Linked DNA regions of Homo sapiens: all the other regions are linked to region 3. Evidence: promoter capture Hi-C in human tissues and cell types (Jung and others, 2019). All regions are on one chromosome and are shown on one strand. The core of a region is centred on a gene start or on the middle of the fragment in contact, and the rest is flanking DNA. Distances in the headings are between cores, read along the strand shown. Region 1 overlaps CUX1 (cut like homeobox 1). Region 2 overlaps CUX1 (cut like homeobox 1). Region 3 holds the start of SH2B2 (SH2B adaptor protein 2).

The links. Contacts are between HindIII fragments. The study calls those that stand out against the background at their distance.
Region 1: a contact is called between a fragment that was not itself captured here and the fragment with the promoter of SH2B2 in region 3, in 2 of the 25 tissues and cell types used here (dorsolateral prefrontal cortex and spleen).
Region 2: a fragment that was not itself captured here is called in contact with the fragment with the promoter of SH2B2 in region 3 in 2 of the 25 tissues and cell types used here (H1 embryonic stem cells and dorsolateral prefrontal cortex).

What each region holds. Positions count from the first base shown.
Region 1 is chr7:101,830,443-101,834,539 of GRCh38, forward strand. All of the region lies in intron 1 of CUX1 (cut like homeobox 1), which reads left to right. Among named protein-coding and RNA genes, the nearest start is that of CUX1, 15 kb to the left of the region's middle. RefSeq lists an enhancer at 1,346-1,987. The HindIII fragment of the contact is 8,098 bases long and covers 1-4,097 here.
Region 2 is chr7:101,852,712-101,857,233 of GRCh38, forward strand. All of the region lies in intron 1 of CUX1 (cut like homeobox 1), which reads left to right. Among named protein-coding and RNA genes, the nearest start is that of CUX1, 37 kb to the left of the region's middle. RefSeq lists an enhancer at 4,211-4,340. The HindIII fragment of the contact is 8,031 bases long and covers 1-4,522 here.
Region 3 is chr7:102,284,028-102,288,417 of GRCh38, forward strand. It overlaps SH2B2 (SH2B adaptor protein 2), which reads left to right and starts at 2,841. Exons shown (of 9, transcript NM_001359228.2): 1 at 2,841-3,067. RefSeq lists silencers at 197-381, 2,159-2,738, 2,809-3,348. The HindIII fragment of the contact is 12,688 bases long and covers 1-3,493 here.

The sequences.
Region 1 (4,097 bases), core at 1,138-3,637, 450 kb before region 3:
ACTCTGGATTCAGATGCTTTTGTTGTTGTTGTTTTGAGACAGGGTCTTGATCTGTTGTGGACTGCAGTGGTGGGATCATAGCTCTCTGCAACCGCGAACTCCCAGGCTCAAGTGATCCTCCTGCCTCAGCCTCCTTTGTAGCTGGGACCACAGGTGTGCCCCACCATGCCTGGCTAATTTTTTTTACATATTTTTATACAAACAGGGTCTTAGTATGTTGGCCAGGCTGGTCTCAAACTCCTAGGCTCAAGTGATCCTCCTGCCTCAGCCTCCCAAAGTGCCGGGATTATATAAGCGTGAGCCACCACGCCTGGCCCAGATAACTCTTGCCTGCCTGATTTTTTTATAATGATGCACTTTGTTTTGTTAAAAATTTATAAATTTAAAGACAAAATATGCAAAAATGTGCCCTGGTCTCAGAAATAACACAGCACATTCGAGTGAAGTTGTTGGCAGTTCCGTGTGTTTTGGGGTGATTCATTTTTTTCATAGGTTGTTGGGGCCGTGCATCCATTCGTGTTCTGAGCACACTCCATGGTACCTGATGACTCGAATGGATCCTGTTCAAGCCCCTGGGTTACCCAAAGAAATATACTTCTGGCCTGCTGGTTGGTCAGAGAATGCAGGACACATTGGGGTATCGCGAGGTGTCCAATGGCAGCGGGTTGGGTGTGTCTGCTGTGTGAACAGGGCAGGGGTTTGGGAAGATGGACTCTGGCTGTCTTGCTCCAAAGACTTCCTTAGGCTGTTGTTGAGCATTTATTGAGTGTCTCCTGTGTGCCGGGCAGCATTCTAGCATAGGGATTGAGTGACCAGACAGTAGGGAATCCTTGCCCTTAAGGAACTGACATTCTTTTTTTTTTTTCGAGATGGAGTCTTGCTTTGTCGTCCAGGCTAAAGTGCAGTGGTGCAATCTCGGCTCACTGCAACCTCTGCTTCCTGGGTTCAAGTGATTCTCCTGTCTCAGCCTCCTGAATGGTTGGGATTACAGGTGTGCACCACCACGCCGGGCTAATTTTCTGTATTTTTAGTAGAGGCGGGGTTTTGCCATGTTGGCCTGGCTGGTCTCGAACTCCTGACCTCAGGTGATCCACCCACGTCAGCCTCCCAAAGTGCTGGGATTACAGCCGTGAGCCACCATGCCTGGCCGGAACTGACATTCTTGCAAGGGGGATGGAAGACAAAGGCAAGGAATAAGTGAGTGCCCAGTGGCCTGGGAACAGACGGAGCAGGACTGATACACAAAGCCCCACAGAGTCACTTCTGTCTTCTGAAGGCCCTGAGAAATAACTTTATTATTATTATTATTATTATTTAGAGACAGAGTCTCGCTCTGTCGCCCAGGCTCCAGTACAGTGGTGTGATTATAGCTCACTGCAGCTTTGACCTCCCGGGCTCAAGCTATCCTCCCACCTCAGGTTCCCGAGTAGCTGGAATTACAGGCATGCGCCACCATGCCAGGCTAACTTTTTTGTATTTTTTGTAGAGATGGGGGGGTCTCACTGTGTTGCCCAGGCTGGTCTTGAACTCCTGGCCTCAGGCGATCCTCCTGCCTTAGCCTCCGAAAGTGCTGGGATTCCAGGCCTGAGCTGCCATGCCTAGCCCCGATTTTTAAACTGAAGAGGGATGGTTCAGTTGTTGGGGTGTGTCTTAGAGGATCCTTCTGGAAGCCCCACATGGAAGGCGGGCTAGAGTGAGGAGGGAGGGGTGATAATGGAACCAGGAGGGTGTGGTGGTCATGGCCCAGTGAGAGGATGCCAGGCTGTGGCCGTGCCAGACTCAGTGTGCCTGGCCCTGGCATTTCAGGCAGGGACCACTGAGGGGTGATGGGAGAGATGGGGCTGGGTGAGTGGCATTTCCACAGGCATCCAGAGGGGTGCGAAAAACTGAGGTTGGGGAACAGCAGGGGCAGGGAACAGCCTGTGGAGGGTGTGGTCATCAGTGTCCCCCACCGACATGGCACATCCAGCGAGCCCACTGTGTCCCCAGCACCTGCGGTGCAGGGGGCTGGCACCTTCAGGGGCGGGCTTCGTGCAGACGTCCACCCAGTCAGTCCCCACAGGTTTATCAAACACAAGTGGGGCGACAGGACCCACACTTCGGCGTTGGACGTGACTCACGCGGGGAGTTGGCTTGGAGTTCCTTTATTCATCCCTATTTGCTTTCTGTCTGTAATCCTTTGTAATTCCCTGGTTTCATGATGTAATTCTAATGGAAATAAACCCGAACCTTTCAAAATTATGTAATTAATTGCATTCAGCTTCAATGACAATGACTAATTATAGTGATACCTGGTGGCAAGGCAGGTACCTACTGCTGGGGGGCTCCTGTCTGCTTGGTACTAGGACTGCCACTTCTGGGCGCGTCGGAGCGGCTGCACAGGGGGTCAGCTGGCTGTCCTGTGGCCTGCTCCGGTGCCTCTGGTCCCCATCTTACCAGGAGCAGCGCCATGGCCATGCAGGGAGGGGCCGGAGAGGGAGGTGGTGTGCAGGGAGGAGCTGCTTAGGGGTGGGAGGGCTTGGACTTGTCTGCAGGTTAAAGAGAAGTCTTGCTGGGAAAGTAACTTCGGGGCTGGTTCCCTGAGAGCATTCTTCTCTGATTCATGTATTTTCCTGAGAAAAAGGGAGGAGGGTGCGTTCGACTGAACGTGAAGCGTTCAAGGATCGGAAAGGCAAGCCAGGTACAGTGGCTTACACCTGTAATACCAACACTTTGGGAGGCTGAGGCAGGAGGATCACTTGAGAGCCCAGGAGTTCAAGACCAGCCTGGGCAGCACAGTGAGACCCCATCTCTACAGAAAAAAAAAAAGAAAAGAAAAGAAATTAGCCCAGCATGGTGGCTCACACCTGTGATACCAATACTTTAGGAGGTCAAGGCGGAAGGATTGCTTGAGCCCAGTTGTTCAAGACCAGCATGGGCAACAGTGAGACCCTGTCTCTACAGAAAAAAAAAAAAGAAAGAAATTAGCTGAGCGTGATGGTGCACACCTGTGATCCTGGCTGCTCAGGAGGCTGAGGCAGGAGGATCGCTTGAGCCCAGGAGTTGGAAGCTGCAGTGACGTATGACAGTGCCATTCCACTCCAGCCTGGGTGACAGAGCAAGAGGAAGACTCTGTCTCTTAAAAAAAAAAAAAAAAAAAAAAAAGAATCCAAAAGCAAGCTTATGGAGAAGGGAGAAAGTGCGACAGTCACCTCGGGGCGTGGGAGAGCAGAAGATGGATGTCAGGTTAAAAACCATTACTGTGCTGTAGTATTTCCAGGAGGCCAAGTCCAGGGCTCTGGGACCTGTACACTGCGGCATCAGACCCTAAAACAGAGCTCTCAGGTTTTCGCCTTCCCAGGAAGTCTGCATCCTTTTTGCAGACTGGTTTTATTCTGTGTTAGGAGGAGGCGATTTTGCTAAGAAATCTTCACTGCAATTTTCCCCCCCAAATCAGGGCACTTGGCATCTCCTTCTAACGGGGGGTGCAGAGTCTGTCCTAGAATGGGACGCACAGTGTTCACACGAGTACCGAGTAGGTGGGGTGCTGGGCCGGCCCCTCTGATCCTGTCCTACCCTGTGCAGCCACGTGCCTTTCCTTATCCCCAGACTTCTGTTGTCACGATTCTTCCAGGGAAGAATCTGGAAGTGGAATCCACAGGGCGGTGCCCAGGGATGGCCTTTAGTGCCTAGTGTTCTGTTTCAGAGAGAGGCCTCTTATTTATTTGAAAAGCTGATTGTTTCTTTTTTTTTTTTTTTTTTTTTTTTTTGAGATGGAGTCTCCCTCTGTTGCCCAGGCTGGAGTGCAGTGGCACTATCTCAGCCCACTGCAACCTCCGCCTCCTGGGTTCAAGCGATTCTCCCGCCTCAGCCTCCCGAGTAGCTGGGACTACAGACACCCGCCACCACGCCCAGCTAATTTTTGTATTTTTAGTAGAGATGGGGTTTCGCCATGTTGCCCAGGCTGGTCTGGAACTCCTGACCTCAGGTGATCTACCTGCCTTGGCCTCCCAAATGCTGGGATTACAGGCATGAGCCACCACGCCCAGCCTTATTTTCTATTTTTAAAGAAAGAGCAAGACTGAAAACATTTGCATGCACAGTGAGTTTTAAAAAGT
Region 2 (4,522 bases), core at 1,489-3,988, 430 kb before region 3:
TGTTGCCCATGCTGGAGTGCAATGGAGTGATCTTGGTTCACTGCAACCTCCACCTCCTGGGTTCAAGCATTTCTCCTGTCTCTGCCTCCCAAGTAGCTGGGATTATAGGCACATGCCACCATGCCTGGCTAGTTTTTTGTATTTTTAGTAGGGACAGGGTTTCATCATGTTGCCCAGGCTGGTCTTGAACTCCTGACCTCAGGTGATCCACCTGCCTCGTCCTCCCAAAGTGCTGGGATTACAGGCATGAGCCACTGTGCTTGGCCTCTGCATTGAATTCTTACTGTCTTTACTTTGTAAAATGTTTTTTAAAAATATATAAACAGTTGCATACCATGCATTTTGGTTGCAAAATATAATACAGTGAACACCCAGGAACCCTCCACCCAACCCTAAGAATCAGAGCTTTGCCAGTCAATTGCATCCACCTGTATATTCCTCCCACCTCCTATTCCCTGCCCCCTCTCTGGGACAGGTGACCCATCCTAAGTAGTGTATTTATTATGCTCTTGCCTAAAATAATGTATTTTCTGCACCCATGAATAGATGCTTAAGTAGTATATGATTACTCTTCCCTGAGTTTGAGCTCTATAAAAATGGTATTATTCTGCAATAGACTTGCAGGATTTGCCTTTTGAACTTGAGTTACTGCAACATTATCTGTGAGGTTGTCTGTTATAACTGTGGTCCATTTATTTTCTCTGATGCTTAAACCCAGTTGTGCGGCTAGACCCAAATTTCTTTAGCCTTTGTCCTGTCGCTTTGTCTGTTTTCCTCGTTTCCCTCTTTGTTTTGGTCCCAGTTAGAGGTTTCCTCAAATGCCTAGTGACGTGTTGTTGTTTGTTCATATATCAGAGCATGGCAATAGAAAGGGTGTGTGTGTGTGTGTGTGTGTGTGTGTGTGTGTGTGTCGGGGTAAAGAGCAGTTTTGGTGGCCCCCACCGTAAGTAATTAACCCAGGTGTCTAGTTGCGGGGAGCCCCCAGGCATGGGTATCAGTGGCTCATTCTCTTGGACTGGTCAGTTTCTCTAGCAAGGAGCCCTCAGTGTTCCTGCTGGGTGGTGCAGTTGGGAACTGTTAGTCTGACCACCTGTCTTCTAGGCACCAGGCTGGGGCATGTGCTGGGATATTCACTCAGCCCCCTGCCCATGGTCATGAGAAACCCCAGTCTTCTGCCCACAGTGCAGGAGGGACCTGACCGCAGTGGCATTTTGCACACCTGCCCGGCCTCCAAGTCCTGCAGCTCGAATGAGCTTGCTTGCTGCAGGCGGCCTGCTCCATCTTGAGGCTTGTCTGGAAAGGCGGCTTCGGCTTTCCAGTGCTTTCCAGCGCTTTCCAGCTTCTGAGATTTTGGGGGCTTTTCATTTGTTCTTGCTTTCCTGTCCTCTTTGTCAGGTGAGTTTATACCTTTCTGTTCCAAAGCAAACAGGATCGTCTGCCATGTTGAACTGGATGTCGGACAATTCTGAAATGTGTGCATGGGGCAAGGCTGTGTGTGATGATACCAGTTTCATAGGAAACACTTCGGTTTTGGTTTTGTCTTTCAAAGTCATCTTTTGTGAGCGCCTTCTAGCCGGGCTGCCAGCGGGTAACATATGATTAACACAAGTTTGGAGTCTGTCTGCAGAGCAACTTTATGAAATGCTCAGAAAGCCAGTCTCCTAAGCATAGGAGCCTGTTTGGTGGTGATGGGATGAGGAAGCAGTGGGGGCTTTGGCACCAGAGGCCTGGGCTCAAATCCTGCCTCCATCATTTAGGGGTTGGGCATCTCCATTCCCTTATCTCTGGGTGGCGAGAACTTCCTAAGTTCTTAGTGTTTGGAAGGGACCCCCTCCATAAAGTGAGGTGCCTCTTGGCCACTGCTCAGCCAGTGGGGGCTGTTCCTAACAGTTGCCTCCTCCGATTGCTGGAGTAAGAAATGACACCCTGTCTCCCATTTCTGTGGCACCCCATTCTCAACAGTGATGGTTCTGCCTGTTTTTAGTCACACACACCTGCACACTTCAAAGGACTAAAAATGGACTCAGTTTTCTTTCTTTTTTTTTCTTTTTGAGATGAAGTCTCACTCTATCACCCAGGCTGGAGTGCAGTGGCATCATCTTGGCTCACTGCAACCTCCGCCTCCTGGGTTCAAGCGATTCTTGTGCCTCAGCCTCCCAAGTAGCTGGGACTACAGGCATGTGCCACCACACCCAGCTAATTTTGTATTTTTAGTAGAGGTGGGGTTTCACCAGGCTGGTCTCAAACTCCTGACCTCAAGTGATCCTCCCACCTCAGCCTCCCGAAGTGCTGGGATGACAGGTGTGAGCCACCTCGCCCGGCCTGGACTCAATTTGGATTGCAATGCCCCACAATGGTGACCTCCCTCTTCTCTGTTAATGCATCCTCTTCCCTCTTGCTTAAAAATTTCCCCAGTGCCGTGGCATCTTACCTCCTGCTGAAGTGTGTGCTGATGCTTTGCTGGGGGCTGGACCCCGTCCCTTGGAGCCTGGCCCAGGCCCTGCCTCCCAGTGAAACCCTGGCCGCCTTTCCAACCTCAGAGGCTCTATCTCCTCCCAAACCCTGTAGCCCTTCCAGTTGCTGGTCACTGACTTCCATTAATTGGCCCGGTGGCCTTGCCTGCCAGGGGGACCATGAGGTGAGGGGCCGTGTCCTCCGAGTGGTCTCTTTCTCCAGGGTGCTGGGGACCCAAGAAATGCCTGGTCGTTTCTCATAGGTTGATAAGGAAAATGAGGCCTAGGTAGGGACAGGCAGGATTTCACCTGAATTTACAAGATGATGCAATGGAAGAGTCTTCAGTATATTTTCACGTATTTTAGAATTGAGTTACAACATTCATTTTGGTACTTTCTCTGTGTTCTCCCCATGTGTTAAAAAGCAGCTTAAGGCCGGGCGCGGTGGCTCATGCCTGTAATCCCAGCACTTTGGGAGGTCAAGGCGGGTGGATCACGAGGTCAGGAATTCCAGACCAGCCTGGCCAACATGGTGAAACCCCGTCTCTACTAAAAATACAAAAATTAGCTGGGCGCAGTGGCAGACGCCTGTAATCCCAGCTACTCGGGAGGCTGAGGCAGGGGAATCGCTTGAACCCGAGAGGCGGAGGTTGCAGTGAGCCAAGATTGTGCCATTGCACTCCAGCCTGGGCGGTAGAAGGAGTTTCCAGCTCAAAAAAAAAAAAAAAAATGCAGCTTAAGTGCTGGTTTAGCGCCTGTAATCCCAGCACGTTGGGAGGCTGAGGCGGGAGGATCACTTGAGCCCAGGAGTTTGTGACTAGCCTGGGCAACATAGCAAGAACCCGTCTGTACAAAAAATAAGAAAAATTGGCCAGGTGTGGTGGCGTGCATCTGTAGTCTCAGCTCCTTGGGGGCTGAGGCTGAAGGATCGCTTGAGTCCAGCAGGAGGTCAAGGCTGCAGTGAGCTATGATCAAGCCATTGCACTCCAGTCTGGGTGACAGAGTGAGACCCTGTCTCAAAAAAAAAAAAAAAAAAAAAAAAGGAAACAAGAAAGAAAAAAGCAGCTAAATTCTGCTGGAAGTGTGCAGTAAAGCACAAGTTTTCAGCCATCAACGCAGGGAGCCGTTAATCACGACCCATAATAACCAGAATGTTATTCCACGGTTGCGGTTTGTTTATTTCATCAGAGTTGCGTCTTCACCTATTTCCCTCCCTACTCTTAATTGTTTATCCAAGTTAGTGTTTTCCATTCTTTCACTGAAGGCTCTAAAAATGGTCCCATCAAGAAGTCTGGTAGATAATGGAAGACGAAGTGGACTTTACAGAAAGATGAATTTTCTTCCCTAGAGCTGGAAAACCCTTCAGCGTGTCATGCGTTCCCCAGCCAGGACAGACAAAGCCACGCAATCTGTTTCCTGCAGGCCCAGAGGGGAAGGCTTCCTCCTTGTGGTTAGTGACTTCAAAAGCTGTCCTCACTAGAGCAAGTCCAACTCTTCCTCTAGTTCTGATGACTTCACGGCAGCCAACTGAGCTGCTGAACGCTGTTTTTTTCTACGCAGAAACCCTCCCGACTTTCACGAGGAGTTGACAGGTTTTCCTCTTCACTCGGGCTCCCTTGTCATCGTTAAACTGAAACTGCTTTCTTGTAGCCAAATTCTGTGGTCCCTTTTCGGCCTCGGCCTCCTTGACCTCTCTGTGTCCCCACCTTGGCTCTCCCACGCCTGCCAGCCGTACCACAGGCCCCGGGTGTGAACCCTCCCTCCGCGGTCATGCAGCCACGCCTCTGCTCAAGCTGTGCCTCCTCCTGGGCGCACCCTCCCTCTCCCATCCTTCAGCCTCTGAAGTCCTGCCCAGCTCCGGTTCCTGTTTCTGTTAGGACGAGGCCCTTCAGATCCTCTCCAGCAGGTGGACTCTGTCCTGCCCCGTACCACCCGCCGCGGGCCACTTTTGGGCCTGCGCCATGTTCCTGCCCTTACCCCGCCCGGTGTTAGCGTCACGTGGGTCCTGATGTCCTCCCTCTCCCAGGCCTCTGCTTATCTGATTGGGGGCTGTGCTTGACTCTGAAACC
Region 3 (4,390 bases), core at 1,591-4,090:
TGGGAGCTGGGGCTGGCCTCACAGCTGGGCACACAGAACATTCCTCCCCCTCTTCTCATCTCCAGGAATTCCATGAGTACATTCAGAGCTCTGCTGAAACCCAGATCCAGTGTCCGAGTGCTTTTGAGAGGACAAGTAGCACCATCAAAAAGGGAAACCCATTCCTTTATTCAAAAACCACCCGGGGCCAGGCGCGGTGGGTCACACCTGTAATCCCAGCGCTTTGGGAGGCCGAGGCAGGTGGATCACTTGAGGTCAGGAGTTCGTGACCAGCCTGGCCAACGTGGTGAAACCCCGTCTCTACCAAAAATACAAAAATTAGCTGGGCATGGTGGCGCATGCCTGTAATCCCAGCCACTCAGGAGGGTGAGGCAGGAGAATCGTTTGAACCCGGGAGGCGGAGGTTGCAGTGAGCTGAGATCGTGCCAGTGCACTCCAGCCTGGGAAACAGAGTGAGACTCCATCTCAAAAAAAAAAAAAAAACCACCTGTCGGGCTGTGGTTGGGTGTATGACGTGTCTTGGTCCACGTCAGTTCCTGGGGAATCTCTGCTTCCCTTTCTGTGCTCCCCTTTCCCATGGGCCCCCGCCTGCCAGGGGCTGCAAAGCCCGTGCCCATCAATCTCCCTGAGCACCAGCCTCGCATGGGAACCCCCCGAGACACAGGTTCTGGGCCACCTCACCTCCAGCCCAGCCTCAGATAGAGGAGCGCATTCTCTGGGTCTGGAGTGGGTGCATTAACTCATTGTCCAGCTGTCACAAGACTGGCTGCAAACCCAGGTCCCCCACTGCAGCCCACCAGGCCAGGGTCCCCTGTGCTACCTCTGTCTCCATTTTAGTTCTGAACAGTCTAAAGCATGTGTATCCAGGGGCCTTTCTTTGGGGTCCCCGTCCCAGCACCCCTCATCTCCCCCATGAGGACTTCTTCCAAGCCCCTCAAGCCTCCTGCCCTCAGGGACCCAGGATGGACCTTTCCTCCCTGACCTTCATTCCTATCCCCAGCGAGGCGACAGCTGCTCTTGGCCAACCACGCCCCCTCCACCCCCACAGCCACTTCCACATCTCCATCAGTTCCTCCTTGTGGGTCCGAGGCGCTCTGCCGCCGGCCCCTCCTCACTTCTTCCTCCCTGGGGATGGATCCAAGCTATTGTCCTGCCCATGGCTTCCCATCTCAGGACCCTCTCTGGCCGCTATCATCCCAGCAGTGGAGTTCAGCCCACTACTCTGAACCAGGTTAGTCCACCGCGGGTCAGGCTCTCCCCTCTCCCAGGAGGGTGGAGACCACAACCAGGCCATGTATGGAGCTTCCCTTTCTCCCACTCTCGGGCACCCCCTCCTCCCCCTTCCCGGCCTCATTCATAGGTGTCCTGGTTCCCAACCAGGCGTGCAGGCCTGTGTGCAGCTCCGATCGAGGGCTGGCCCACTGCCGAAGCTTTCATTAAAGTGTCTGCTGGCCTGGTCCTGCGGAGGGAACAGAGCCGAGATGTGGGGCAGGGAAGGGGTCTGCCTGTCTTCCGTGCCCCCGTGGAGGGCAGCACCGGGGTTTTGGGCAGCAGGTGAAGGCTCTGTCCCCTCCACCTTCAACTCTGGAAGCCCCACCTTTCCATCCCTAAGAAGGGTTTGATAAAAACCCTTGTCTGTAAATTAGAGATGGGAAATGGCTCTGGGAAAAGTCAGAGGTCAGTTTGGGCCCGGGAGGGCGACAGATGGAGGCAGCTCCGGCTGGCAAGGAGACCAGGACAGAACTGCCAGAGGTGGGGGCAGGGGACAAGGAGGGAGATGAGGGGAGAAGACACCCAGGGGTCCCCCCCTGCTATCTCCAGGAGCAAGACTACTCTCTTCTCTGAGCGGCCCTTTCCACACCTCTGCCCCCACCGAAGCCCTCCCTCCCCTCTCAGACCCCTTCCAGGCCTGCTGAGCCCCCTGCACCTCTTTCAGGAAGCCTCCCAGAGCCCCCGCGCTGTGCCCTCAGCACCAGGGGTCAGGCTACAAATGCCCCGCAAAGCCCAGCGGGACTGTTTCCTCAGCCCCACTGGTCTCTGCCCTAAAGCAGGCGAGTTCTGGAGCCAGGCAGGGGTGAGGAAGGTGCCAGGGTTGTGGCCCCTCATCGCCCCTCTATGATCTCTGACACCTCTCCGGGTGGCATCAGGCCCCCATCACAGCGAAGGCTGGGTGGTGGGGGCACTGCGCTCAGGGGGGCCGTCCCGCCCTGTGGCCCGGGGGCGATTTCCCGCACCGGAGGGCTGCAGGGAGGGGGCGTGGTGGCGCCCTCGAGATTTATGAGAACCAGGCGTCGACTTCCTCCGTTGCGACATCCAGGCCTCCTCCAGGCTCCCATTGTCCCTGCTGCGGAGAGTCTGGCCACAGCGGCGGCTCCCGCGAAGCACCCGTCAGCGAGGGGCGCTTCGAGGGCGTCCGCGTCCCATACACCCGCCACGCAGGACATTCCCCCGGCCCCACGCTCCGCGCTCCCGGGGCCACCACCACCGCGGGCTCGAGGGGTGGCCTCCACGAGGAGGAGTGGGAGTCCCGCGCCTGGCCTGGGGCCGGCTCGGCGACATGGGGACCCCCGCCCAGATGGGGCGACTCGGAGCCGGCTCCTAACCCCTCTCTCCGGGCCCCAGGACCGGGCAGTCTCGGCACCGCAGCTGCGGGGAGCCAGCAAGCACCGGCCACCGGCGCCGCTCGGGCTCCGCGGATGGCCGGGGGCGGGGCCTGAGCGGCGCAAGTGGGGGCGGGAGGGGGCGGGGCCAGGACGCGCGAGGGGGGGCGGGGCCGGGGCTCGCGGCGGGGGCGGGGGCGGGGCGGGGCCGGGAGGCGCGCGCCTCGCGGGCGGAGGGGCGCGCCGCGCTGGGGCTGGGCTTGGAGCGCGCGGAGCTCGGCTGCCAGAGAGCCGCGCGGGGGACGCGCCGGGACCGCGAGGAGCGCAGGAGCCTTCGAGGCGGTGAACGAGGGAGGGAGCCCAGTCCGCCGCGGGCCATGAGCCACCGGGCCCGGGGAGCCCGGCCGCGGTCCGGGCAGCGCTCAGCCGGCGCCCCAGCCCGCTCGGCCGCAGCTGCGCGCCTGTAGGTATGGCCTCCTTATACCCAGTTCCTCGCTCCCTGGTCCTTCCCCCGGGACCCCTGTCTGTCCCCGGGGACGTGCGCTGTGTGCGCACCGCTGCCCGAAGGAGAGCGGCCGCACGCGCCTTGGTCCGCGCGTGTCGTCTTTGTGTGCGCGGGTGGGAGGGAGGAGGGCGCGCGAGGGAGGGGAGGCGCCCCCGGCTGGGATCTGCTCCCCGATCCCCATCCCGGGCGGGGCGGGGAGCCGCTGGAGGGGCCGAGCCGCCTCTGGAGCAGCTGCGCCCCCGCCCCCTGCTAGGGCCCCGGCCGGGTAGTGGGGCGAGAGCAGCCGGGTCCTTAGAGGAGGGGTCTCTGGTTGGGGGAAGGGGTGCCCAGGTCTCTTCCCTACGCTGGGAGCGCTGGGAGGGGGCGTCAACCTAGAATGAGGGTGAGGGCCACGGGATGGGATCGGGGAGGACCTCCTCCAGGCCACAGGCACGCCCTCCCTTTGGCCCAGGCCCCCCTTTCTCGACCTGCCCAGCCGGGGAGCTCCCCGGAGCCCCCGATTGCCGGGAGGATCGTGGAGGGTGCCCAAGAGGCCGGCGCCTTTAAGAAGGGGCGGGTTCGTGCCCTCCATTCAGGCCCTTGGGCCTCGGCCATTGATGAACCTGCGGGCTGCGCGGGCCGGAACCGCGCCAGCCCAGCGGGCTGAAGCCGGGCAGAGGCAGGGACGCATCCTGGCCCCCTGCAGCCCCGAAGTGGGGGCCTTCAGGGAGGGAAGTCTGCAGTGACTGGAGCCTCTCAGGAGCCACGCAAGGCAGACCGGGCAGCCCCAGGCGAGACTCTGAACACGAATAAGCCAGGATCTACGTGCACTTCGAGCTAGTGCAAGGGAGAGCCTCAGGCTAGGCTGTCAGACCTGGGTGGAGCCCTACCAATGCCCCCGAGCCAACATCACCTACCCTGTAAAATGGGATGGTGCTGCCTGCCTCCTGGCTAAGGGACCGGCAACTCCCGGCAGGAATTGCGTCCCAGAGTCAGGTCCCTGGAGCTCCTCTGGGAGGACTGGGGGCAGGGGGTGTGGTTTCCCCAAGAGGTTTTGACTGCCTCTTGAGCTGAAGCCCCCACTACTGTGTCCCACCTTGAACTCTCCCAACCTCTTCCCTCCTGGCCTCCCCACTCCACGCAGGAAGAGGTTGGGAGAGTGACCTAGAACTTTTCAGCTCCAGGAGCTTTGGGAGAGGTCTGGTGGTGGCGGTGGTGGCACTTCTTTTAGGCTAGTGTGGATCAGGGCATTTTTGGGGGTCTCAGAGACAGTTTCCCACCAGCTACTTCCTTAGAGGTCTGTCCT